Regions from separate parts of the Homo sapiens genome. Here region 2 is linked to region 1. The links are contacts of gene promoters, found by promoter capture Hi-C in blood cells and fetal thymus (Javierre and others, 2016). All regions are on one chromosome and are shown on one strand. The core of a region is centred on a gene start or on the middle of the fragment in contact, and the rest is flanking DNA. Distances in the headings are between cores, read along the strand shown.

What was found. Contacts are between HindIII fragments. The CHiCAGO score rates a contact against its expected background, and 5 or more counts as called.
Region 2: a fragment that was not itself captured here is called in contact with the fragment with the promoter of GCNA in region 1 in 16 of 17 cell types (activated CD4 T cells, naive CD8 T cells, naive CD4 T cells and 13 more); the score reaches 16.0 in activated CD4 T cells.

The regions. Positions count from the first base shown.
Region 1 is chrX:71,575,157-71,580,577 of GRCh38, forward strand. GCNA (germ cell nuclear acidic peptidase) reads left to right here and starts at 3,281. Exons shown (of 13, transcript NM_052957.5): 1 at 3,281-3,366. It overlaps OGT (O-linked N-acetylglucosamine (GlcNAc) transferase), which reads left to right. Exons shown (of 22, transcript NM_181672.3): 22 at 1-736. RefSeq lists an enhancer at 3,488-4,129. The HindIII fragment of the contact is 6,206 bases long and covers 532-5,421 here.
Region 2 is chrX:71,423,131-71,428,551 of GRCh38, forward strand. It overlaps TAF1 (TATA-box binding protein associated factor 1), which reads left to right. Exons shown (of 38, transcript NM_004606.5): 30 at 1-109; 31 at 844-936; 32 at 1,024-1,108. Among named protein-coding and RNA genes, the nearest start is that of TAF1, 59 kb to the left of the region's middle. The HindIII fragment of the contact is 631 bases long and covers 2,362-2,992 here.

The sequences.
Region 1 (5,421 bases), core at 2,031-4,530:
TATGTTTTGTCTCGCTATACTGCACTTACGCTATCCAGTTGCAGGTAATTTTTTGTCTGCTAGTAGTGTTCTAGATTATGTCTTTCCAAAGCGCTGAGGCTGTGCACCTATTCTGTAGTTGCAGCTGATGCCTGAATGTATCCTAGCTGACAAATTATTGATTAATAAGAACTTGAATTTCTGGAAGATTCTTACTGTTAACCAAATTTTGAGCAAGGAGTCTCAAAGGTAATTCTGAACCAGAATTACATGTTAATGAACAGTGTACCTTTTAACAGTGTAAATCACGGAATATCCGTGAAGGGATTTCTTAATTTATTTTTTACCGGTTGATTGAAATATCAGTTAAAGGTTGCCAGCATGGTTGCAGATAAACTGATGTTTGAAATTCGCTGAAATACTTAATGTGGAATAGGATAATATACTTCCAATGCCCTCAAGGCTGTGACCTTACAGCCATTTTACATAGCACATCATTCCTCCTATAGGGATGAACTTTTTCCTGGCACGAAAAGTAGCCGCTCTGGTTGAAGCTTTGCTTATTGTAACAGGCTTTTATTTCCAGGTAATATGTCTTGGAAGACTTAATTCTGATTAGAGATATAGATATTACTGGAAACTAATTGTTTTTTTTCTATTGTACTCTGCTTTATCAAAGAAGTAAAACATTTAAATCGTACTACAGAAATTAAGATGTTGTCTTGCGATCCTTAATAAATGAATGATTTCCCTTTAATACGGCTGATGTATTTTGTATCCTGTTATATTGAGTGTTGGACTGAAGAATAGTGTCATCCAATGATGAAACCTATATTTAAACACCTCCAAACAGCATGAAAGGACCAAATTTCCCTACTGTAGCTATGATATTAGGAATTGTTTTCTCAGCCAGGTCTGGTAGAGGGTGGGGTTAGTTTATGATCCATTAAGAAGGCAAAGTGGCCTTGTGTGGTGGCTCACGCCTGTAACCCCAGCACTTTGGGAGGCGGAGGCAGGTGGATCACTTGAGGTCAGGAGTTCAAGACCAGCCTGGCTAACATGGTGAAACCCTGTCTCTACTAAAAATACAAAAAAACTAGCCGGGAGTGGTGGCACACGCTTGTAATCCCAACTACATGCGAGGCTGAGACAGGAGAATCGCTTGAACCCGGGAGGCAGAGGTTGCAGTGAGCTGAGATCGTGCCATTGCATTCCAGCCTGGACAACAGAGTGAGATGTCATCTCAAAAAAAAAAAAAGACAAAGCCTGTGATCCCCAACACACCCATTCATGCTTGCTCCTCTTTTGCTTGTGACCTCTCTGCTTTCATTTACCCTTGTAGTCTCGGTTTTCATGTGGACCATTCTTTTCTTGGCTCTTGGGGGCAAAATTATTTTCCTTCCTGCTCTGTATAGTGGTCGAACTCTGCCACAAGCATCAGGGAGGAAGATATCAATTCATGATTGATATCATGAATTGATATCATGGCAAATGCTGTTTGCCAGTTTTCTCAGATATGAGAGGGAAGATTTTTTTCAGTAAAATTTTGCATGATTTAATTCCCAACTTCTTAAAGCCCTCATGTGGATTGGTGTTTGTTTCCTAAAAGATTATTATGGGAAGAAAGCCTACTCAAAAGTTTTTACTCCCATTCGCTTCTCTTGAAAAATCTACATTATTTCCAGTCTACTTCAGCTCCTCCTGCCTTCAATCTAAAGGAGTTGCTTGCACACCTTGAGTAAATGTGTGTAATTTCTGAACTGCCCATTTTAAGATTTGATTCCAAACCTATCCCATTCTTTTACTTGAAGCATATGCCTCTCAATTATAGCTAACATCCTGGTTCTTTGCCCAAGCCTCTGAGGCACAGTTATGTAATCCCCATTCTTATAAAGAGGCTTGTAGAGGTTAATTTGCAACTTCATTGTAGAGAGAGAGAGTAATCAGCCCCCTTTATCCAATTTTTTTATCAACTGAGAAAGTATCTGTATTTAGGTAGGCAATCTGGTGCTTAAGAGCAGGTTTTGGAACTAGAGTTGGAGTTTGAATCTCAGCTCTGCCACTTTTTTTTTTTTTTTTGAGATGGAGTCTCGCCCTGTCCCCATGCTGGAGTGCAATGGCACGATCTCGGCTCACTGCAACCTCCGCCTCCCAGGTTCCAGCGATTCTCCTGCCTCAGCCTCCCGAGTAGCTGGGATTACAGGCGCGGGCCACCACACGCGGCTATTTTTTTTTTTTTATCTTTAGTAGAGACGGGGTTTCACCATGTTGACCAGGCTGGTCTCAAGCTCCTGACTTCGTGATCCACCCGCCTCAGCCTCCCAAAGTGCTGGGGTTACAGGCGTGAGCCACTGTGCCCGGCCAGCTCTGCCACTTTCTAGCTGTGTGATCTCTAAAATGAGAGTGCTAACAGTTGCCTACTTTTTAAAGTGTTGTATGAATTAAGTCGTAAGACACTTGGAATAATGCTTAGCACAAAATAGTATCAAACGCAGGGACATTTTATGTGTGTTCTGTTACCCAAAGGCATACATTACGAAATATATAGATGCTCGCTGGAGAAACTGGCACAATCTAGAAAGCGCTGTTTTCCCCGTTTGTTTTTCTTGGTGTGTATGGAGTGAGTGCCAAAAAGCCTCAAGTAACCTTTTTTTATCTCCAGGGTTTGGAGGGTTCTGGAAGTAAACATCATAGTTCGCCGTTGCCAGGCGCTGTTGAGTTGCTGCCTTGCTCTTATCTAGGGGTCTAGATGGCCTTCCCTGCAACCCCCGCCCCCCTGCGCTCCCGCGTCCCCCCGCGCCCCGCCCTCCCCTCGGTGTTCCCGTCCACGCCCCTGCTCCCGCGCCTTCGCTCCAGTTCTCGTGCCCCCGCCCCTCCCCCCGCGCCCTTTCCCAGTGGTTGCAATAACGGACTTAGAGGTCTGGACAATTCAAGTAAGGAACAAGGCTCGCTTATCCAAGTTCTCGCAGGATAAAAGTTTGTTATGAACGATTTCACATGGTTTCTCTTTATCAGAAAGTTGTTAGGGACTTTTAATCGCAGAATTGGCCTCGGGTGCCCACGCTCTAGTATTGAAATGGCGGTTTTGGGACAAATAAGCAACATCCGTGGGAGTGGAAAGCGACAGACCTGATCCCGGAAGCGTTACAGCTAGGCGCCAAGTTCACAGGCGCGAAGTTCAAATTTGTCTTGTGACCACTGTGATAGGTGGGTACAGGGGAGCGCGGGCGAGCACACGTGAATTACTGCTACCGCCCCCTAGGTCCGGGCACTATAAAGGGGCCTGCGCCTGGCGTTGTTCATCGCAGTTGCTCCGGATCTTTGCACACACTCCACGGGCAGTTGGAGGTGAGCTGCTGCCGGCCACGCCAGAGGCTGCAACACCAGGTAGGTGACCGGCTGGTCGGACTGAGATGGGTGCTGAAGTGGTCCAGAGGTTAATCCTAATTGAGTGACTTAATTAAAATCAGGACCACTGTATACCTTGGACTCTGGTTGCCCGTGTAGGCCTGAGGTGGGAGTAGAGGAAGTGGCAGCGAGGGGAGAAGTGGAGGCGCCAGTGGTAGCATTGGGGGAGGTGGGGGCGCCCATGGTGGTGTAGGAAACATATGGTGGCGCCAGTGGCGGCATTGGGAGGGGTGGGGGCGCCGGTGGCGGCGTAGGAGCAGCTGGTAGTGCCAGTGGCGGCGTGGGGAGAAGGGGCGCTGGTGGCGTCATTGCAGATAGTGGGGGGCCTGGTGGTGGCGTAGAAGGAGGTGTTGGTGCCAGTGGCGGGTGGAGAGAAGTAGGGGCACCAGTGGCGGCGTTGGGGGAAGTGGGGGTGCCTGTGGCAGTGTCGGGGAAGTGGGGGTGCTGGTGGTGGTGTAGGAGCATGTGGTAGCACCAGTGACGGTGTGGGGAGAAGTAGGGGCACCATTGGCGGCCTTGGGGGAAGTGGGAGCGCTGGTGGTGGCGTAGGAGCGTGTGGTGGCGCCAGTGGCTATGTAGGAATACGTGGCGCCGGTGGCGGCGCGGGGAGAAGTGAGGGCGCTGGTTGCGGCACTGGGGGGAGGTGGGGGCCCCAGTGGTGGTGTAGGAACAGGTGGTGTCCCTAGTGGCGGGTGGGGAGAAGTAGGGATGCCAGTGGCAGCGTGGGGGGAGGTGGGGGTGCCAGTTGCGGCCTAGGAGTACTTGGTGGCGTTGGTGGCATAGGAGCACATAGTAGCGCTGGCGGTGTGGGGAGAAGTGGAGGCGCCGGTGGCCGCATTGAAGGTGGGGGTGCCAATGGGGGCGTTGAGGGAAGTGGGGGGTTCTGGTGGCGGCGTAGGAACACTTGGTGGTGGTGGAAGTGGCCTAGGAGCACGTGGTGGTGCTGGTGGGCGTGGGGAGAAGTGAGGATGCTGGTGGTGGCATTGGAGGTGGGGGTGCCAGTGGCTGTGGGGAGAAGTGGGGGTGCCCGTTGCAGCATTGGGGGGAGGTGGGAGCTAGTGGTTGTGGGTAGGGGTGTGTGTGTGGGGGTTGAGGTCTCTTTGGCTGAGGACTGAGTGGTGGTGGGAGACAGGAGTGGGGTAGGGCAGAAGTTGGATAGAAGTGTGGGGGAGTGGAAGCCTGCTTGGAAAACCGGTTGGGAGCAGTTGAAGGTGGCTGGAGGTGGTTGGAGGTGCGAGTGTGGGGGAAGGGTGGTGGGGTTGAGGCCTGATTGGTGGAAGACTGAGGTGAGAATGGTGGGGGTAGGGTCCAGACCTGATAGGAGGAAGGAGTTGGGGAGGGGTCAAGGCCTGTTTGGTCGAAGATTGGCTAGAGGCTGGAGGCAGGAATAGGAAGCGTGGAGGGGGTGGCCGGATTCATATAAGACCAGTGAGAAGCCAGAGTGGCGGGAGGTAAGGGGGCAGTGGAGGTTGGACAGAAGGAAGAAGGTGATGAGGGGGCGGTGGTAGCCTATTCTGGGTAAGATTGACAGAGTGGGGAGTAAAGAGGTAGGGGAAGGGGGAGAGGTTGACACCCGGTAGGTGGGAGACTTCCTTGGGGCAGGAGTAGGGGGACTGAAGGTTGTAGGGAGGTGGAGGGCCAGTGGGATGTGGGGGCGGTCGAGCCCTGATACGTGGAAGACTGGCAAGTTGAGGTGGGAGTGGAGGGAGTGGGAAGTGGGGGCGGGTGCAGGGTGGGAAGAGATTGGGGTGGTAGAGGCCTGAGTGGGAAAAGTTTGCAACAAAACAAATTTAAATCCTTTTCATTTTGCAGAGCAAAGTTTCGGCTTTAAGGTGGGGAAGATACCCAAAGATAAATGCAGAATGTAAATGTAGAGATGTCTCTGCTTTTGAGTTCTGGCTTTCTTTTTTTTTTCTTTTTATTTTATTTTCTTTTTCTTTTTCTTTTTTGAGATGGAGTCTAGCTCTGTGGCCCAGGCTGGAGTGCAGTGGCACAATCTCGGCTCACTGCAAGCTCTGCCTCCCGGGTTCACGC
Region 2 (5,421 bases), core at 1,427-3,926, 150 kb before region 1:
AGCTCGCTTAGAGAAAGCTATCAACCCCTTGCTGGATGATGATGACCAAGTGGCGTTTTCTTTCATTCTGGACAACATTGTCACCCAGAAAATGATGGCAGTTCCAGATGTAAGCTGTCTCTGTGCCAAATACTGTGAGGATCGTGCAGGGGAAAGGAAAAATGTTTAGGGTGTACACGTGTGTGTATTTTGGAGAGTCTGAGTGGTGGTGTATGTCAGTTGTGACTGGTATGTGATTTTAAATATTGACCTTTTTGCTATATGGGTACATTATCTTTTTTTTTTAAGAGTACATTATCATTGAAATCAAAGAGGCCAGGAATCTTTGGATGTAGGGAGGTTTTTGCTTCCTGTTGTTGACATTCAGTATATGAATGCTCCTGAATAGCCCTGTAGAGAGAGGATGCTAGCGAATGTGAGGCTTTTGATTTAGAGGTGCTTCTAAGCAAATGATGCTTTGATAATTAGACACCATTGGTTGTCTTTTATTTCATTTTTATATTGTTACAGTGATCCTCCCCAGGAATTCTCAACAGAGTTTCCTTTTGTACTATAGGAATGTGTTCTATATGTGTAATGCTATAAAACTTCTCGTTGGGACTAGGGAATAAGGAATTTTAATTATGACTATACAGCAAGTGTTTTTATCCTATCATGGCATAGAAATCCTTAAAGGAATCTATGAACCCCTTACATTATAAACAGAAGTTTTGTATGATTATGTGTTTTTCTAGGAAAAGAGTCCATAGCTTTTTTTAGGAATATTTGTAACCCAACAAAGGTGGTGAAATTCTCGTATGAAGAGTGGTTTCCATTTAATTTCTTATGCTTTCTATTTACTAGTCTTGGCCATTTCATCACCCAGTTAATAAGAAATTTGTTCCAGATTATTACAAAGTGATTGTCAATCCAATGGATTTAGAGACCATACGTAAGGTGAGTGAGTGATTTGATCTAAATGCCTTTTTGTAATCAAGTGACTGTGTGTGTGTGTATCTGAGTGCCTGATTCTTTTCATCACAGAACATCTCCAAGCACAAGTATCAGAGTCGGGAGAGCTTTCTGGATGATGTAAACCTTATTCTGGCCAACAGTGTTAAGTATAATGGTGGGTATTTCTCATTATTTTCTTTCCATGAATCCGTCCATCTTCTATCCATCTAACATTACTTAGCATTATTAAAAAATTTTTTTTTGAGACAGGATCTTGCTCTCTTACCCAGGCTGGATGCTGTGGTGTGATCATAGTTCACTGAACCAGGCACACGCCACCGTGCCAGGCTCTTTTTTTTTTTTTTTTTTTTTTTTTTGGTAGAGACAGGGTTTTACTATTTTGCCCAGGCTGAGCTCAAGCAATCCTCCCACCTCGGCTTCCCAAAATGCTGGGATTACAGGTGTGAGCCAACACGCCTAACCAGTATTATTAAAATTTATGTGCGTAAAGCAACCTTGAGCAGTGATAGCAGAATCAATTGAGTGACCTAGTCTTTCTATTTATTTATTTATTTTGAGATGGAGTTTCACTCTTGTTGCCCAGGCAGGAGTGCAATGGCACGATCTCGGCTCACTGCAACCTCCACCTCTCCCAGGTTCAAGCAATTTTCTTGCCTCAGCCTCCTGAGTAGCTGGGATTGCAGGTGCCTGCCACCATGCCCAGCTAATTTTTGTATTTTTAGTAGAAACGGGGTTTCACTATGTTGGCCAGGCTGGTCTCGAATTCCTGACCTCAGGTGATCCACCTGCCTCAGCCTCCCAAAGTGCTGGGATTACAGGCGTGAGCCACTGCTCCCAGCCAGTCTTTTTTTTTAAAGCAAGCATATATTTTAGTGTGTATGTTCTATAAAGATTGCTATTAGCCGTTAATGATGAAAAAGTAGTATACGCTTACTTTTGGAATCTTGGAAAGCACAGAAAAATGAGGTGAGCATAAAAATCAAATGGATTTTTATCCATTTGGGCTCTGAGCTATCACTGCTTTTTCCTGGAATGTGAAAACTCACCTATGTCCCAGGCCCTTACATGGAGCTTAGGGAAATGGGTAGCTATAGACCATGGTGAGCTTCCTTGGTGCATGGAGTTTTGCTCAGTACATGAGTTGATTGAATAACATATGCCAGGCCCTGTGCTAGCTGCTTAATCTACTGATAAGAAAGACAGTCACTGTCCTCAAGTAATTCACAATCCAGTTGGCAGAAAGAGACAATTAAAATGCAGCTTGGAACCAGGCATGGTGGCTCATACCTGTAATCTCAACACTTTGGTAGGCTGAGGTGGGAGGATTGCTTGAGGCCAGGAGTTTGAGACCAGCCTGGGCACACATAGCAAGACCTTCCTTGTCTGTATAAAAAACTTATAAACAAAAGCTTAGCTAGGTGTGGTGGTGAGTGCCTGAAGTCTTAAGATATTTGGGAGGCTAAGGCAAGAGGATCACTTGAACTCAGGATTTCAAGACTGCAGTGAGCTATGATCACGCCCCTGCACTACATCCTGGGCAACAGCAAGACCCTGTCTCTATAAATAAATAAAATAAATAAGTAAAGTGCAGCTTGACAAGAGCTATAATAGAAGTATGTGCAGATTGCATCAGACGAGAGCAAGGAATAACCTGAGAGTTAGGGAAGGCTTCATAAACGAGCTAATATAGTTCAGTTTTTAATGACTCAATTTTTAAACATTGAGTACTTACATGCGCTGGCACTGATAGATGTTACTAATATCAAATTAGATATGGTCTCTGCTCCAAGTTAGTTTAGTTGGAGAAACAGAAAAGAAAAATTATAGTACTTAAATTTTATTACTATAAGCATGCACAGAGTGTCACAGGACAGTATATCTAAATTAGAGTGGGGCTGGGTGCGGTAGCTCACACCTGTGATCCTAGTACCTTGGGAGGCCAAGGCGGGCGGATCATTTGAGCTCAGGAGTGCAAGACCAGCCTGGGCAACATAGTGAGACCCCATCTCAGAAAAAAAAAAAAAGTGGGGTTAGAGGAAGCTTTCTGGAAGAGGGTTTTCTTTCTTCTTTTTCTTTTTTGTAAATAGAGATGGGGGTCTTGCTGTGTTGCCCAGTCTGGTCTGGAACTCCAGGGCTCAAGCCATCCTCCCATCTTGGCCTCCCAAAGTGTTAGGATTACAGGCATGAGCCACCACACCCATCCAGAAGAGAGTTTTCTTAAGCTGAGTTCTGAAAGATCAATGGTGTTTACTTGGCAAAGAATGTGGAGGAGAAAATGTTCTAGGGTAGAGAGAACAGCGATATGTAAAGGCACAGAGGCCTGAAATTGCATGATAGGTTTAGGAAACAGGCTGGGTGTGGTGGCTCACGCCTGTAATCCCAGCGCTTTGGGAGGCCGAGGCCGGCGGATCACCTGAAATCGGGAGTTTGAGACCAGGCTGACCAACATGGAGAAACCCCGTCTCTACTAAAAGTACAAAATTAGCTGGGCATGGTGGTGCATGCCTGTGATCCCAGCTAGTCGGGAGGCTGAGGCAGGAGAATCGCTTGTACCCTGGAGGTGGAGGTTGCAGGGAGCCGAGATGCCGCCATTGCACTCCAGCCTGGGCAACAAGAGTGAAACTCCATCTCAAAAAAAAAAAAACAAAGAGACAGTGTTGGGGTTGCAGTTCAAGTGTACATACTGGTAAATAACTGTTTTGAGAGGCAGGCAAGAGTCAAATCATAGAGGATTTTGTGTGCTATACTTGAGTTTGTACTTGATCCTAAATGGGAAAACATTGAAGGAATGAAGCAGGGAAACAATTTCTTATAATTCCTTAAACAAATAGAAGAGGGAGCTAAGGACGTTTGAGAGAATTATCTGGCGTACTGAGGTTCTCAATTAAGAATCCACATGATTATAAGACTTTTCTCCTGTAATTTTTAGCAGTAAGTAGTACGGCTGTTAAGTTTGTCAGAAGGGGCAGAGAACTGGAGAGAAAAGGTGAAGGATTGGACAGTCAGAAAGACTGATGAAGAAATAAGCATTCTGGGCAGAGAACACAATGTTCAATATCATGGAAGAATGAAAGAGCAGGGCAAGTTCAGGGAACTATACGTAACTAGAACATGCATATATCATTAAGGAGATGAGATTTTCATTTTTGTTCATTCTGGTTTGGGTTGAAAGAATGTACTTTCTCAGTTTGCTGTGCTTATTACACATTGGAAAGTGGAGAGTGGAAATGTCCCTTGTTGGGTCAATTATCCATTATTGTTTTATGAAAACACCTAATCACCCAGAATTCTGGCAGTAGAAGTGTTGGTAAGCTCACAGATGTCTAAAAAAGACTATGTATAGCAAGTGATAAGCAAGAGTGTTACAGAAAGGTACTTGACCTGGTGATGGCTGACTTAGGACATAGGGCAGACTTAACAAGGAGCTTATGTAAAACAGTAAGAAAAACCCAGAAGATACTAATAAAAAAGTAAGCAGAGGGCAGATGGACAAATCACAAAAGAGAAAAATTAAATAGCTAACAAACATGAATAAATATTCTGTTGCACTAGTAATCCAAGAAATGCAATTGGGCCAGGCATGGTGGCTCATGCCTGTAATCCCAGCACTTTGGGAGGCTGAGGCAGATAGATCACCTTAGGTCGGCAGTTTGAGATCAGCCTGGCCAAGATGGTGAAATCCCATCTTTCCTAAAAATACAAAAATTAGCTGGGCGTGGAGGCGGGTGCCTGTAATCCCAGCTACTCAGGAGGCTGAGGCATGAGAATTGCTTGAACCTGGGAGGTAGAGGTTGCGGTGAGCCGAGATAGTGCCACTGCACTCCAGCCTGGGTGATAGAGTGAGACTTAGTCTAAGAAGGAAGAAAAAAAAAAAAGCAATTGAAAGAAAGAGATACTTTTTTTTTTAAACCTATTAGATTAGCTCAATTTTTTTTTTTTTTTTTTTTCTGAGATGGAGTCTTGCTCTGTCGCCCAGGCTAGAGTGCAGTGGCGCGATCTTGGCTCACTGCACCCTCCGCCTCCCGGGTTCAAGCAATTCTCCTGCCTCAGCCTCCCAAGTAGCTGAGATTACAGGCTCCCGCCACCGTGCCTGGCTAATTTTTGTATTTTTAGTAGAGATGGGGTTTCACCATCTTGGCCAGGCTGGTCTCGAACTTCTGACCTTGTGAGCCACTGCGCTTGGCCAACTCAATTTTTTAGTAGACATAATGGTAGTGAGACAGGTGCTCTCACGTATTGCTGTTGGCAGTATAAAATTGTGTGAGATTTCTGGAAAGCTATTTGGCAACATTGAGAGACTAAAATAAATTGTTGAGTGAACAGACTTTATTGTCAAGTAGACTTGGATTTGAACATTGGCCCCACCACTTAATAGCAATGTGACTTTGAGCAAATAACTTAGTCTCTGCTTCTCCTATCTGTAAAATAAGAATAATAGTACCCCCCTTCAAGAGGGTTGTTTTGAGG